Regions from separate parts of the Homo sapiens genome. Here regions 1, 2 and 4 are each linked to region 3. The links are contacts of gene promoters, found by promoter capture Hi-C in blood cells and fetal thymus (Javierre and others, 2016). All regions are on one chromosome and are shown on one strand. The core of a region is centred on a gene start or on the middle of the fragment in contact, and the rest is flanking DNA. Distances in the headings are between cores, read along the strand shown.

Region 1 (3,073 bases), core at 523-3,022, 1.0 Mb after region 3:
AATTCAAGTGATTCTCCTACCTCAGTCTCCCTAGTAGCTGAGATTACAGGCATGCACCACCATGCCCGGCTAATTTTGTGTATTTTTAGTAGAGATGGGATTTCACCATGTTGGCCAGGCTGGTCTCGAACTCCTGACCTCAGGTGATTCACCTGCCTCGGCCTCCCAAAGTGCTGGGATCACAGGCATGAGCCACCACACCCAGTCAAGATGACTTTAAATTCTATTCCGGTTTCCTACATTGTTTAAAACTCTGAGTCTCCAATCAACTTCATTGCCCTTTACATTATGTCAAATTCATCAATACTACCTCAAACAATAAAATCAAATGCATGCCAAAACCCAGCTACTCAACATGTTCCCCAACTCTCAGTTAGTGACCCTCTCTGGTACACAGCGTGAGAACCCCTATCTATCCTCCAGATCAGAGGTAGTGCAAAGGCCAACTCCAAAACAATGAGACATGAGTAGCTGTCTGCTGGATTGCATGAAAGAGTTCTGAGGACATATCATGGTTTAGGGCATCTTGTCCAACCCATGGCCTGTGGGCTGCATATAAATGTGTGTTGGGCCACATTCAACATTAAAACATTATGAAATTTTTTTGCAATTTTTTTTTAAGCTCATCAGCTATTGTTAGTGTTAGTGTATTTTATGTGTGGCCCAAGACAATGCTTCTTCCAATGTGGCCTAGGGAAGCCAAAAGACTGGATACCCCTAAGTTAGAGTCAAACTTCATCAACTAGTGATGTCTGCCAGGATGATGGCAAGGGAACAGACAGAATGGATTTGCTGACCCTGTTATTTGGGATTAGAATAGAATCAAAAGCTTTACTAAAATAAAGGTAACTTCAATACTCCGATTGCTACATGGTTTGCACATTTGTAATAGAATAATTTGTACCCCTCCCCTTTTTTATAACTGAGTAATTTTCTGCTAGCATCTCTCAGTTACCAAAACCAAGTTAAATGTACTGCCATAGACTAAATCTTTGCATCTGCCAAGACTAGTGTGTTGAAACCTAATCCCCAATGTCAGAGTATTTGGAGGTGGGACCTCTGGGAGGTAATTAGATCATGAGGGTGGAGCCCTCATGAATGGGACTATTGCCCTTATAAGAAAGGTCCTAAAAAGATCCCTCACTCCTGTCATCATGTGAGGTTACAGCAAAAGGACAGCCCTGTACAAACCAGGAAGCTGGGCCTTGATCTTGGGCTTTCCAGCCTCCGGAACTGTGAAAAATCAGTGTTTGTTGTTTATAAGCCACCCACTCTATGGTATTTTGTTATAGCAGCCTGAGTGGACTAAGACAAATACTAGGCTAGAAGCAATAGATTTACTTTTTTTTTTTTTTGAGAACCGTAGATGAGAAAATCTAGTTCTTTTTTCATCATTGCATATTCCAGTAGTTCTCCAAAAACTTACAAAATAATCAATGCTGATTATAAAATAGGAAAATTTTAACCCCAAATATAAATATTAGCCACATAATTAACTGTGAGTTTTGATGCATAAATGGGGATGGGGTGGAGCTGAGGACACTAATCAATTGTCAGTTAGCACTGAAAAAAAAATAGCGTTGAGAATAACAGGCAGAGTTCCCTTTTTTGTTTGTTTCTTTTTCTTTTTTTTTTTTCTTGAGACTGAGTCTCACTGTGTCACCCAGGCTGGAGTGCAGTGGTGCAATCTCAACTCACTGCAACCTCCACCTCCTGGATTGAAGTGATTCTCATACCTAAGCCTCCCAAGTAGCTGGGATTACAGCTGTGCACCACCATATCCGGCTATTTTTTTGTATTTTAGTCAAGACAGGGTTCCACCATGTTGGCCAGAATGGTCTTAACAGAGTTTCATTTTAACGACTAACATTTTAACAACCCACTCTTGACCTACATCTTGGCTGGCAGCCCACATTAACTCTGTTGATTTGGATACAGCTAACTTGATTAAACAAGAAATCCCACAGCACAGAAGCATTCATAAAACTCCACTGTCAAATGAACCATTAATTCACTTAAAATGTCAGCCTTGTGGTTTGGCATTTATGTATGGTATCTTTGATTGTAATGCTAAATATTCTTAATAGATTTGTTTCTTCAAAAATTTCATTGATAAGGACAAACTGTTAGGAGCTTCCTGGTAAGTGACTATATAATAAGAAAAAAACAAACTGACTTTTCTTCTACTATACTCTCACCAAAACACAGAACACTCCTGTGACCCCAGATGTGTGGGTTTTTCTCCCACACCAAACAATTCTTCGACACCAGCTAGATGTCCCATAATTCAATTAAATTTTGACACTATCTACCTGGAGTTAGAGTCAAATTCCACAAATGAAGGGCTCAGTTCTACAAGACCGCCTCCACTTCAGGTGCCAATTGCAAGTCCAAGCCTTTGGTACTTCTGATCTACCAGCTATAAATTGAGCGTTCCCATAGTCCCTTCCTCAGGTTCAGTCATTTGCTAGAATGGCTCACAGAACTCAGGGAAACACTTTACTTACTAGTGCTGATGTATTACAAAGGATATTTTAAAGCACACAAATGAACAGCCAGATGAATACTGCACTGACGACAAGGTTCAGAAGGGTCCCTAGCACAGAAGCCTCTGTTCCCATGAAGCTGGGGTGCACCTCCCACCAGGCACCTGGATGTGTTCAACAATCTGAAAGTTCTCTAAACCCTGTATTTTTTAGTTTTTATGGAAGCTTCATGACATCAGCTTCCATAAAATGATTAAATGATCGATTTAATCATTGCCCTTTGGGGAGCAATATGGAGGGGAGCTGAAAGTTCCAACCCTGTAATCACATGTTTGGCTCCCCTGGCAATCAGCCACCATCCTGAGGCTATCTATCCAGGAGCTCCCAGCCACCAGTCATCTCATCAGCATACACAAAGACACTATCACTTATCACTGCAGAGATGCCAAAGGTTTTAGGACCTATGTGACAGGAAAGGGAGAGGGAGCAGAAGTCTAATACATATTTCTTATTATGTCACAGTGACAAAGCCAACTCTCAGAAGAGGAGGCCAGGCGCAGTGGCTCACACCTGTAATCCCAGCACTT
Region 2 (3,162 bases), core at 66-2,565, 1.1 Mb after region 3:
ATATATATTAATTTTAAAATAATTTAAAAGGATATGTTGTACTCATTTTGCAGTTAAAATTATGACCATGGACTGGTCTAAAGTAAGAAATAGTATGAGACTTAGGAAGCAGATAAGATTACTGCCAGGGAAACAAGGATGAAACACCTGCTGTTTAGTAGGAAGATGGCCCGGCAATAGGAAGACCAAGGAAAAAGATAAAATGTTAAATGCTGCAGAAAAGTTGGAAGATGAGAACTGAGAAAATGCAGTAATTAGATTATTAGATGACTGAAAATCCTCAGTAATTTCTGGAGCGTAATGGGGAAGAGACCAGGCTGTAAAGGGTTTGAGGAGTGGGTGCTAAAGCAGTTATAACTGGTGGCAGCTTCTCTTTTAGGGAAAAGCAGGGGAGAACCTTTAAAATGCATAGGGAAAAAAATGGTTAAAAGAAATAAAATGTATAGGGAGTTTTCTGATTGTCTAATATAGTTTTTCTCTATATATGTGTATGTATTTTTAAACAAAATTGGTAGTGTACTTTATAAAAGGTTTGGCATCATATTGTGTCATGATCACTTTACAATGTTGCATAATCCTCTACAATATTATTTTTCATTTCTTTTCTTTTTTTTTTTGAGGCAGAGTCTCACTCTGTTGCCCAGGCTGGAGTGCAGTGGCGCAATCCCGGCTCACTGCAACCTCCGCCTCCCAGGTTCAAGCGATTCTCCTGCTTCAGCCTCCCAAGTAGCTGGGATTACAGACGTGTGCTGCCACGCCCGGCTAACTTTTTGTATTTTTATTAGAGATGGGGTTTCATTATGTTGGCGAGGCTTGCCTTGAACTCCTGACTTCAAGTGATCCACTCGCCTCGGTCTTTCAAAGTGCTGGGATGACAGGCGTGAGCCACCATGCCTGGCCTACAATACTATTTTTCATAACTGCATTGTGTTCTACCCTGTGGCCTTACTGTGATTTAAACATTCCTTTAAATATGTTATAATCAGCTGTTTCTAGTTTTTCATTATCATAAAGTATACTACAGTGAATATCCTTGTATATCAATATTTGGCGTTATCTATTATAGATTCCTAGATATGGTATTACTGTGTCACAGGGTATGAACACTTGTAAGGTTTTTGATCTGCATTAGCAGATTGCTTTCCGGAAAGATTATATCAGTTTGTACTCATACTGTATGTTATTTTTGTTTGCTACTTTACAAGTTTAAAAATAGAAATATATAAAGTAGGAAATAAAAAATTTAAACTCTCATTAGTTTCCTTAGTGGCAACTACTATTTCATGGATTCTTACTAGCTTGCAATATTCATAAAACACACAAATGTAAATGTGTGTGTGTATATATATGTGTATATATACATTTTGTTTTTGTTTTGAGATGGAGTCTCATTCTGTCGCCCAGACTGGAGTGAAGTGGCATGATCTCGGCTCACTGCAACCTCTGCCTCTCGAGGTCAAGCGATTCTCCTGCCTCGGCCTCCGGAGTAGCTGGGATTACAGGCACACGCAACCATGCCCGGCTAATTTTTTTTGTATTTTTAGTAGAGATGGGGTTTCACCATGTTGGCCAGGCTGGTCTCGAACTCCTGACCTCAAGTGATCCTCTCACCTCGGCCTCCCAAAGTGCTGGGATTGCAGGCGTGAGCCACCATGCCCGGCCAAATGTGTATACTTTTTATTTACACAAATGGGATCTTACTATATGTGCCTAATATCTCCCAAGATATCACAAGTACAGAATAGTATCTGTGTGTATAATTCATCACTCTTTGTTTTTTTTTTTTTTGAGATGAGGTCTTGCTCTTTCAGCCAGGCTGGAGTGTAGTGGCACAAACACTGGTCACTGCAGCCTTGACCTCCTGGGCTTAAGCAATCCTCCTGCCTCAGCCTCCTGTATTGCTGGGACCATAGGTATGCACCACCACGCCTGGCTAATTTTTTATTGTTTGTAGAGACAGGTTCTCACTTTGTTGCCCAGGCTGGTCTCAAACTCCTAGGCTCAAGCAATCCTCCTGTCATTACAAAGTGTTTGGATTACAGGGGTGAGCCACCATACTCGGCCCATCATTCTTTCTGCTGGCTGCATATATCCTGTTGTATAGACGTACCATAATTTTTTTAACCATCTAAGAATGATTTTCTGGGTTTTTTTGTTAACATAAACAGTATTACCATGAACATTTAGTATTGTACATTTCTTTGTGCTGTTGAGTGTATATTTGAAAGTCACACTCCTGGAGGTAGACTAGCTGATTGCCTTTTGGAAAACTTATGCCATTTTAGGCTTCTCCACAGTATATAAAAGTGCCTAGGTCCCCATACTCTTTTTTTTTTTTTTTTTTTGAAACAGAGTCTCACTCTGTCACCCAGGCTGGAGTGCAGTGGTGGGATTCCGGCTCACTGCAACCTCTGCTTCCCGGGTTCAAGTGATTATCCCTGTCTCAGCCTCCCGAGTAGCTGGGATTACCGGCGACTGCCACCACACCCAGCCAATATTTGTATTTTTAGTAGAGATGGGGCTTTGCCATCTTGGCCAAGCTGGTCTCAAACACCTGACCTCAGGTGATCTGCCCGCCCTGGCCTCCCAAAGTGCTAGGATTACAGGCGTGAGTCACCATGCCCGGCCCCCATGCTCTTGCCAACACTAGGTATTATCAAATCTTTTAATCTTTGCCAATTTGATAAGTGAAAAAAATAGCATTTTAATTTGCATTTCTTAATTACAAAAGAGGTTAAGTATTTTTTTGATACTTTTTACTTTTTTTCTTGGCCATTTTCTCTGAAAAGGATAGGCCTATTCTTTGGCTGCATTTGTACTGTTTTGCTTTTAGTGATTTGTAATCACATTACTTAAGGAAACTGGGCTTTTGTCATGTTTTATACATATGCTAATACAGTTTATAATTTTTTTTCTGTCAATAAACACTTTAATGAGAACCGAGGTCTATAATATATATAGCAGTAACCACCCTGGCCTATGCCTTCTGCTCTAGCCCAAGTCTGGGGCCCAACCAGTTACATTTAACCCACATTTGGAAAGCAGGCCATTTTCAGTGTCATCCATTAGTATCCATCTTCATAGAAGATACCAATCTGGGGCTAGAGTCTCAATGTTAACACTTTCTCTCAGGGAAAAGTTAACATGGTAACACAAACATAT
Region 3 (3,174 bases), core at 578-3,077:
ACAAAACAAATCCCAACCTAATTAATTCTATTTTGGGTCTAGTTTCCAAGGCAGTTTTCACAAAGACTATTCTCAGCCCACTGTTCCTAGTTTTGTAACTTCAACCTTCAGTAGCTGGAAATTGTTATATTTTGGGTAATTCCTTGACACTTATGTTTTATTACAGACTCATTTTATTCTACTTACTATCAAGGGTAAGGGGAAAAGTGTCACTACATTGATTCCATTGATTCTAAAGTTTTAGTACTAAGAATCACGTTTACGTTTATTTCGTGATATCATGTGATATGTTCCTATTAGGGCTTTGTAATTTGGGTTACATCAAACTCATCAACATCAACTTTCAGGTGGAATCCTCCCCAAATCAGAACTGCCAGCCAGTCTCAGCAACCACATAAACCAGAAGAAAAGGAATCAGGAAACTTAGATTCTAGTTTCAAGAGCCACGAACTTGACCTTGGGCAATCCACCTCACTTCTGTAATTCAAACTGCAATGCCTGCTTCCAAAGTATGCTTCTAGAAACAGTTTACGTGTTTTGGGTTTCTCAAATAAAATGGAATTTTCTAAACAGACGGTTTGATACAACAATCTATTCTCTGGTCCAATTTCCCAAACCATCCAGTCCATAAGATCATAAAACTGCATTTCTTCACAAGTTCTTACTTGCACCACTATATTACCAAACACGCCCGAATTCCTTTTCTAGCTTTAAACAGATAGTAATATCGCATCTACTTATTCTTAAATGTGAAAGAAGAGTAATCTATAGAAAAGGAAGTGAAAAGTCTTCATGAATTAACGTCGGGTTATATGAAATCTACTGGTAGACAGAAGAATTGCACTGTCTGTCGTGTACTCAAAAGAAGCTGGAAGATTACTATTATGTCACGTGCATGATACTCTAAAACCTCCAAAATCTATCATACTGAAAAAGGATGGAGAAAATGTAAGTGCATATGGGGCAGCGCGAGAAGCCAAGCCTCCCGCGTCAGGATCCGATGAAATGATACAGCCGACGGTGGCACGTCTCTAGTCCTTACTAACTTTGTTCCCTCTACTGAAAAGAGAGGTGAGGTGGCAGCTACTAACTGCACTGCAGCCCCTAGGAGGACAGGTTCCCTCCTGATTCCAGCGTCGGCCCCAGATCCTGAAGAAGGGACCGGAAGAGGATGAAGCTAAACTGTAAGCCGGGTTGAGTGGCCCATTTCTCCCGGGCAGCGGCCGCGGTCATCCTGGGAACCTCACCGCCACTGGGATCCCGGGTCCCGACCCCCTCTGGAGAAGGAGGAAGCAGTGCCAGGCAGGGAGGAAGGTGCACCGGCAGCGTGCAGCCTCACCTGACGCTGGACGGGCCCCACCCTTGCTCTCAAGTGTCCCGCTTCCAACCAGGACCCAGCCAGGGCGCGGCGTCCGCCTCTCTCGGCTCCACTTACTTTGTCGCTGGTGCTCTCGGTTTCGTGGTCGCCGCCGGCCGCCTCTCCCTCGCGGTGTGGCGGCGACACCGCTTCCCTGGGGCCGGGGCAGCTTCCCCGGTGCCTCAGCTCCAACATCTTCCGCTCCCGCGCTGCCGTGGCGGCCTCCTCAAGCACCCCGAAACCTGAGCTGCAAGCAGGGTTCTGCAGGCGGGGCGCCCCGCCACCTCGCAGCCGCGCCCTGGAGTCCCGCGGAGCCGCAGCCACTAACGCGGCCCCACCATAGAGCGGCCGCCGCGCCGGTCACCTCCAAAACGGCATCAACGAGAGAGCGCTCGAGGCCGCCTGCAGCGAGCGCGGCTCCGGCGGAGGTCCCGGGCAGGCTCCGGGCGCCAGGCGCGAGCAGAGAAGGCGGAGACGCGGCCTCCGGTTGCCAGGTGCGCGTCTCCACGCAGAGGCCCAGGTAGGAGGAGGAGAAGGGGCGGGGAGAAAAGGAGGACGCTTGACCCGCTTTAGCGCGGCTCTGGGCTCCCGCCGCCGCGCAGGCCCCTCCCGCCCCGCCCCCCGGAGCCGGACTCGGAGCCGGCTTGTCCCGGCCCCGCACACTTCTCCCTGCCCGGGCCTCCCGCACCAGGTCTCGCGCCGCAGGCCCCGCCCCTCTGCGCTGCACTGCGGTTCCCACAGCCCCGCCTCCCCGTGAGGTGACGTCAGGAGCCCGGCCCGCGACCCCGCCCCCGCCTCTGCGTGCTGGCAGGTGGGGGCCTGAGAAAAGGTGGGAGCGGTGGGGCGGGAGGAGGCTGAGGAGCTGGGAGGCGGAGGCGGGGCCAGCGCGGGCTGGAAGTGAGCGTTGAGAACTTGCAGGCTAGTCCCTGGGCCGCTGCGAGGGCTGGAGGAGCTACTCAAAGACGCCCGCTAAATGTTAACAGCGCTCAACACTGCTGCTTCAAACGCCTCCCCGGCCTTGTCAGCTTGACACGCGCGGCGGGTCGGAGGCTCACTGGACCAGAAACTTGTCTGGCAGGACGGACTGGTTGGCCCCGCGGCATTCCAGCCCAGTGTCATCACCTTGAAAACAGGAGATGCTTTTGCCTCACTGGGCGTCCAGAGGTGCGTCGGCCAACAATTCCGATCACAACCGCAGCGCCGTCTCCCAGAAACTCAGTACTGAATCTCACAAAGGTCACCACCTAGGATCCCAACACAGTGTGAGATGCTATGGGACGCCGTTGCCCTCCAGCTAGTCTCTGAGCAGTGGTGGACCTTGGGCTGCCAAAGCGGGAACAGGAAGGGCACAAGATCTGCATTAATTCTAGTCTTAATCCTGTTAGAAGGTGATTAGTTTTCTTGACATGTATCCGCCACCCGGTCATTACTGACAAGCTAACAAATGAAAAAAAGAGAGAAACAAAGAGAAAAAAGAAAAAAGGCGGGCCTTCACACAGGACAAGGTTCAGGAGAGCACCCTTATAGAAATAGATCAACTATGTAAATTCCTCAAGGTCTTTACTGACACGGTAAAAGTAAGTAAAGTGTTGAAAATTTACTAACAAATGAGCAAAACCAAAAGTCAAATTAGGATGCATTGAAAAGCAGAACACAAAGACATCATTTTACCTCACCAAACAGATCTTTGAAGCTGTGCGGTTAGTTTGGGTTGCACGTTTTCAAAAGGATGTCGAGAAACCATAATTTGTTCCTTATGGGGTGGATAACTGAAATGACAGAGAAGATTTGAAAATAAGTCCCTACTGAACAGAGAA
Region 4 (2,973 bases), core at 424-2,923, 1.0 Mb after region 3:
TCTTCTCAGTTGAGATGCCTGTTTCTGGCCAGGCGTGGGGCTCACACCTTTAATCCCAGCACTTTGGGAGGTGACGGCAGGAAGATTGCTTGAGGCCAGGAGTTCAAGACCAGCCTAGCCAAGATAGCAAGACCCTGTCTCTTATGTTAAATATACACACACACACACACACACACACACACACACACATATTATACATATAATTAAATTTTTTTTTAAAAAAAGACTCCTGCTTCTAACACTTAATTCAAAGAAACCACTGATCTCTGACTCTCAGTTTCCCTCTCTGTAAAAGGGGGTTGGCACTTGCCCTCCCTACCCTACCCAGCCTTTTGACACTTAATAAAACCCTAAGAGTAAGCTGCAGTTGTTCTCTACCAGGCCTACTTCCATCTAACATTTTTCTTTGCAGGATTTGGAAACAGGAGGGTAGGGAGACCTGAGGTCAAAGAATATATACCTTTTCAATGGCATTTCAAGTGCTGTTGGTTAGATAAAATTTCCATGACTCCACTAAAATAAAATAAGATTTCTTTCTGCCATCCAGCAATTGGTCTCTTATCTTGGGCATAAAGAAGAACATGATGCCTTTCTGAACTGGATGCCTTAGTACACAAAAGGACCTCTGAAACCTGGGGCTGTAAAAACAAGCGGGTGAAGCGGAAACTGCACTGCATAATGGATATAAGCAAATCCTCTGATACAAAAAGTTGGTCGCATTGTTGTTATTCTAATCAGTAAAATAATAACGATGCTCAGGGAGTGGAATGATTTTTTCGCCTTCGACCAGAGAAACAACAGAGTGGTCCAGTGGTTCCAGCCTAGATCCCTCCAGCTCCGCGAAAGAAGCCGAGATGCTGACTTTCGCACTGCTGCGGGCAAGGAACAGAAATGCACGCACGCATGCACACGCGCGCACACACACCCCTGACTCGCGACCACTGACCTTGAGAACTGGACCCCCGGGTTCTCAGCCCGCAGCGGTGTGGGGCTGGCTGCATCCCTCCCGGCACTCACCTCTAAAGTTTTCACTAGGATCTTCATGTAGATCTCGGAGATGCCCAGAGACACTCCGAAGACCGAAGGTAAAAGGATGAAGCCGAGAACCAGCGTCAGCCAGGTGGAAAGGATCTTCCCGGCCAGCTCTGCGCCCTCCATGACTCGGCGCACCCACTCAGGAGAGGTCCGCAGTGGAGGGCCGAGCGCCACAGCAGTCCCTGTCCCCAGGCAGTCCCGCGGGAGCTCCAGGAGCAGAGCGCCGAGCCCGGCACTCACCTCTGCGAAGGGAAGAGAGGAAGGAAAAAAACTTTCAGAATTACGGCAATATCCTTCCTTCCTCCCTGGGCTCCTCCTCGCCCCTGCCAGTTAACTCTTTCTCCGCTGGCTGCCCAGGTCTGGGCTGAAGCCACCGCGGCGTGCGGAGACCTGGGTAGCGCGAGCCAGTGGTCGGAGCTGCGGGTAAGCGGAGGCACACCGCGGCGCGGGCAGAGCGCGCGAGCGCAGCCAGGAACCCGCCCCGCCCGGTGCCTGATTTCCTCTGGGTGGCGATTGCGACAACTCAGCAGATGACTCACGGAGGCCCTCCCCGAGCCAGGTTCCCTGCGGGAGCACCGCACTTTGGCACACCGGTCGCCGGCGGAGCTGGCACCGGGCCGCGGGCTGTGCTGGAAGCTGGCTGCGCTCGGGCGCCCAGCGCCCTATTTCTGCGCGCTGCCCTCGCCCCACCTCCTCCGTCACCCAACGGGGGAGCTCCCTGGCAGTACTTAGCCCAGGAGTGCCGCAGCCTCCTGGGCGGTCTCCGTTCTTCCCCGCGCCCCGCCTCCCCCAGCACTCAGCAAAGGTCCTTTCAGGAGGAGAGTTTTCATCTGAAAAATGTCAATATTTTCTTCACCCGCAGAATGAACTGCTGACGTATCTGGGACGCTTGAGGTCTTGTTTGTGTGGGTGTAAAACGAACTCTTGGAAAGGGCTTCCAAGGACAGGAAAACGCAGAGCGCACCACGCAGCCGTGTACGCCGCTTCTGGCTTCCACACCTCCTTCCCCACATGGCCTACAGCTGTGGGGCTCAATCTTGCTTATCCCGAGAGTAGGAAGCTCTCTCCACGCGTTGCCTAGCCCACTGAGCCGCCATCTCCCTGGCACAGAAACCCTGCGGCTAAGTATCTGTCACTCCCTTTCTGGGGGAAGATTCCAACCACACCTTCCCCTACCATTCAGCCAATACTATCCGCGCTTAGGCGTAGCAGAAATGCCAGGCCGGCGCAAGCCTTCATTCACCAAGCTGACAGGTGTCTCCTGGGTGTTCAGGCTCCGCGCTTCTACCGCGCCAGCCCTTATCAGAGCAACGAAGGGCAAAACCCTGTATGTTATTTACTACATTGCTGTTCTCTTAGAGACCAGAACTATTTTTAAGAATGAGCAGAAGGGATTTTGAGAAGGGATTTTCCAGATTGCCGCTGAATTCGACCAAAATCTCTTACAGGTACTTTTCAGGTGTTGTTTCAAGCTGGAAAAAAACTGAGAGGGCCAGCAAACTGAATTGAAACAGCGCTGATAGCAAATATTGCAGAGAAAATGGTCCCTGCCCAGGGTGTGGAGGAAGTGGGGAGCCAACGAAGTGACAAGCCCCTCTGTAAAGAATGTAGATGTCTGCCTTAAGTACTTACTGCCAGGTAGCTGTCACAAGCCCCCTCCCACACTAAGAACGGAAAAAATTATAACTTGATGATTAAAACCAGGTTATGGACCGGGCGCGGTGGCTCACGCCTGTAATCCCAGCACTCTGGGAGGCGAGGCGGGCAGATCATCTGAGGTTAGGAGTTCAACACCAGCCTGGCCAACATGGCGAAACCCCCGTCTCTACTAAAAATACAAAAAAATTAGCCCCGCGTGGTGTCGCACGCCTGTAGTCCCAGCTACTCAGGAGGCTGAGGCAGGAGAATCACTTGAACCCGGGAGGAGGAGGTTGCAGT

What was found. The method cuts DNA at HindIII sites, captures the fragments that hold promoters and counts their contacts. A CHiCAGO score of 5 or more calls a contact.
Region 1: a fragment that was not itself captured here is called in contact with the fragment with the promoter of CDS1 in region 3 in 3 of 17 cell types (M0 macrophages, M2 macrophages and M1 macrophages); the score reaches 6.9 in M0 macrophages.
Region 2: a fragment that was not itself captured here is called in contact with the fragment with the promoter of CDS1 in region 3 in 2 of 17 cell types (non-activated CD4 T cells and activated CD4 T cells); the score reaches 6.2 in non-activated CD4 T cells.
Region 4: a contact is called between the fragment with the promoter of GPAT3 here and the fragment with the promoter of CDS1 in region 3, in 2 of 17 cell types (M0 macrophages and M2 macrophages). The highest score is 6.8, in M0 macrophages.

The regions. Positions count from the first base shown.
Region 1 is chr4:83,555,065-83,558,137 of GRCh38, reverse strand. The region is part of intron 2 of GPAT3 (glycerol-3-phosphate acyltransferase 3); the gene reads right to left. Among named protein-coding and RNA genes, the nearest start is that of GPAT3, 20 kb to the right of the region's middle. The HindIII fragment of the contact is 1,882 bases long and covers 832-2,713 here.
Region 2 is chr4:83,478,587-83,481,748 of GRCh38, reverse strand. All of the region lies in intron 2 of ABRAXAS1 (abraxas 1, BRCA1 A complex subunit), which reads left to right. It also overlaps the pseudogene SLC25A14P1. Among named protein-coding and RNA genes, the nearest start is that of ABRAXAS1, 4.9 kb to the left of the region's middle. The HindIII fragment of the contact is 5,215 bases long and covers 1-3,162 here.
Region 3 is chr4:84,581,780-84,584,953 of GRCh38, reverse strand. It overlaps CDS1 (CDP-diacylglycerol synthase 1), which reads right to left and starts at 1,827. Exons shown (of 13, transcript NM_001263.4): 1 at 1,436-1,827. The coding sequence starts at 1,552. LOC102723338 (a long non-coding RNA gene) reads left to right here and starts at 2,733. Exons shown (of 8, transcript XR_007058460.1): 1 at 2,733-3,174. RefSeq lists silencers at 1,871-1,970, 2,011-2,220 and an enhancer at 1,081-2,034. The HindIII fragment of the contact is 8,586 bases long and covers 1-3,174 here.
Region 4 is chr4:83,534,808-83,537,780 of GRCh38, reverse strand. GPAT3 (glycerol-3-phosphate acyltransferase 3) reads right to left here and starts at 1,673. Exons shown (of 12, transcript NM_032717.5): 1 at 1,018-1,673. The coding sequence starts at 1,158. The HindIII fragment of the contact is 15,854 bases long and covers 1-2,973 here.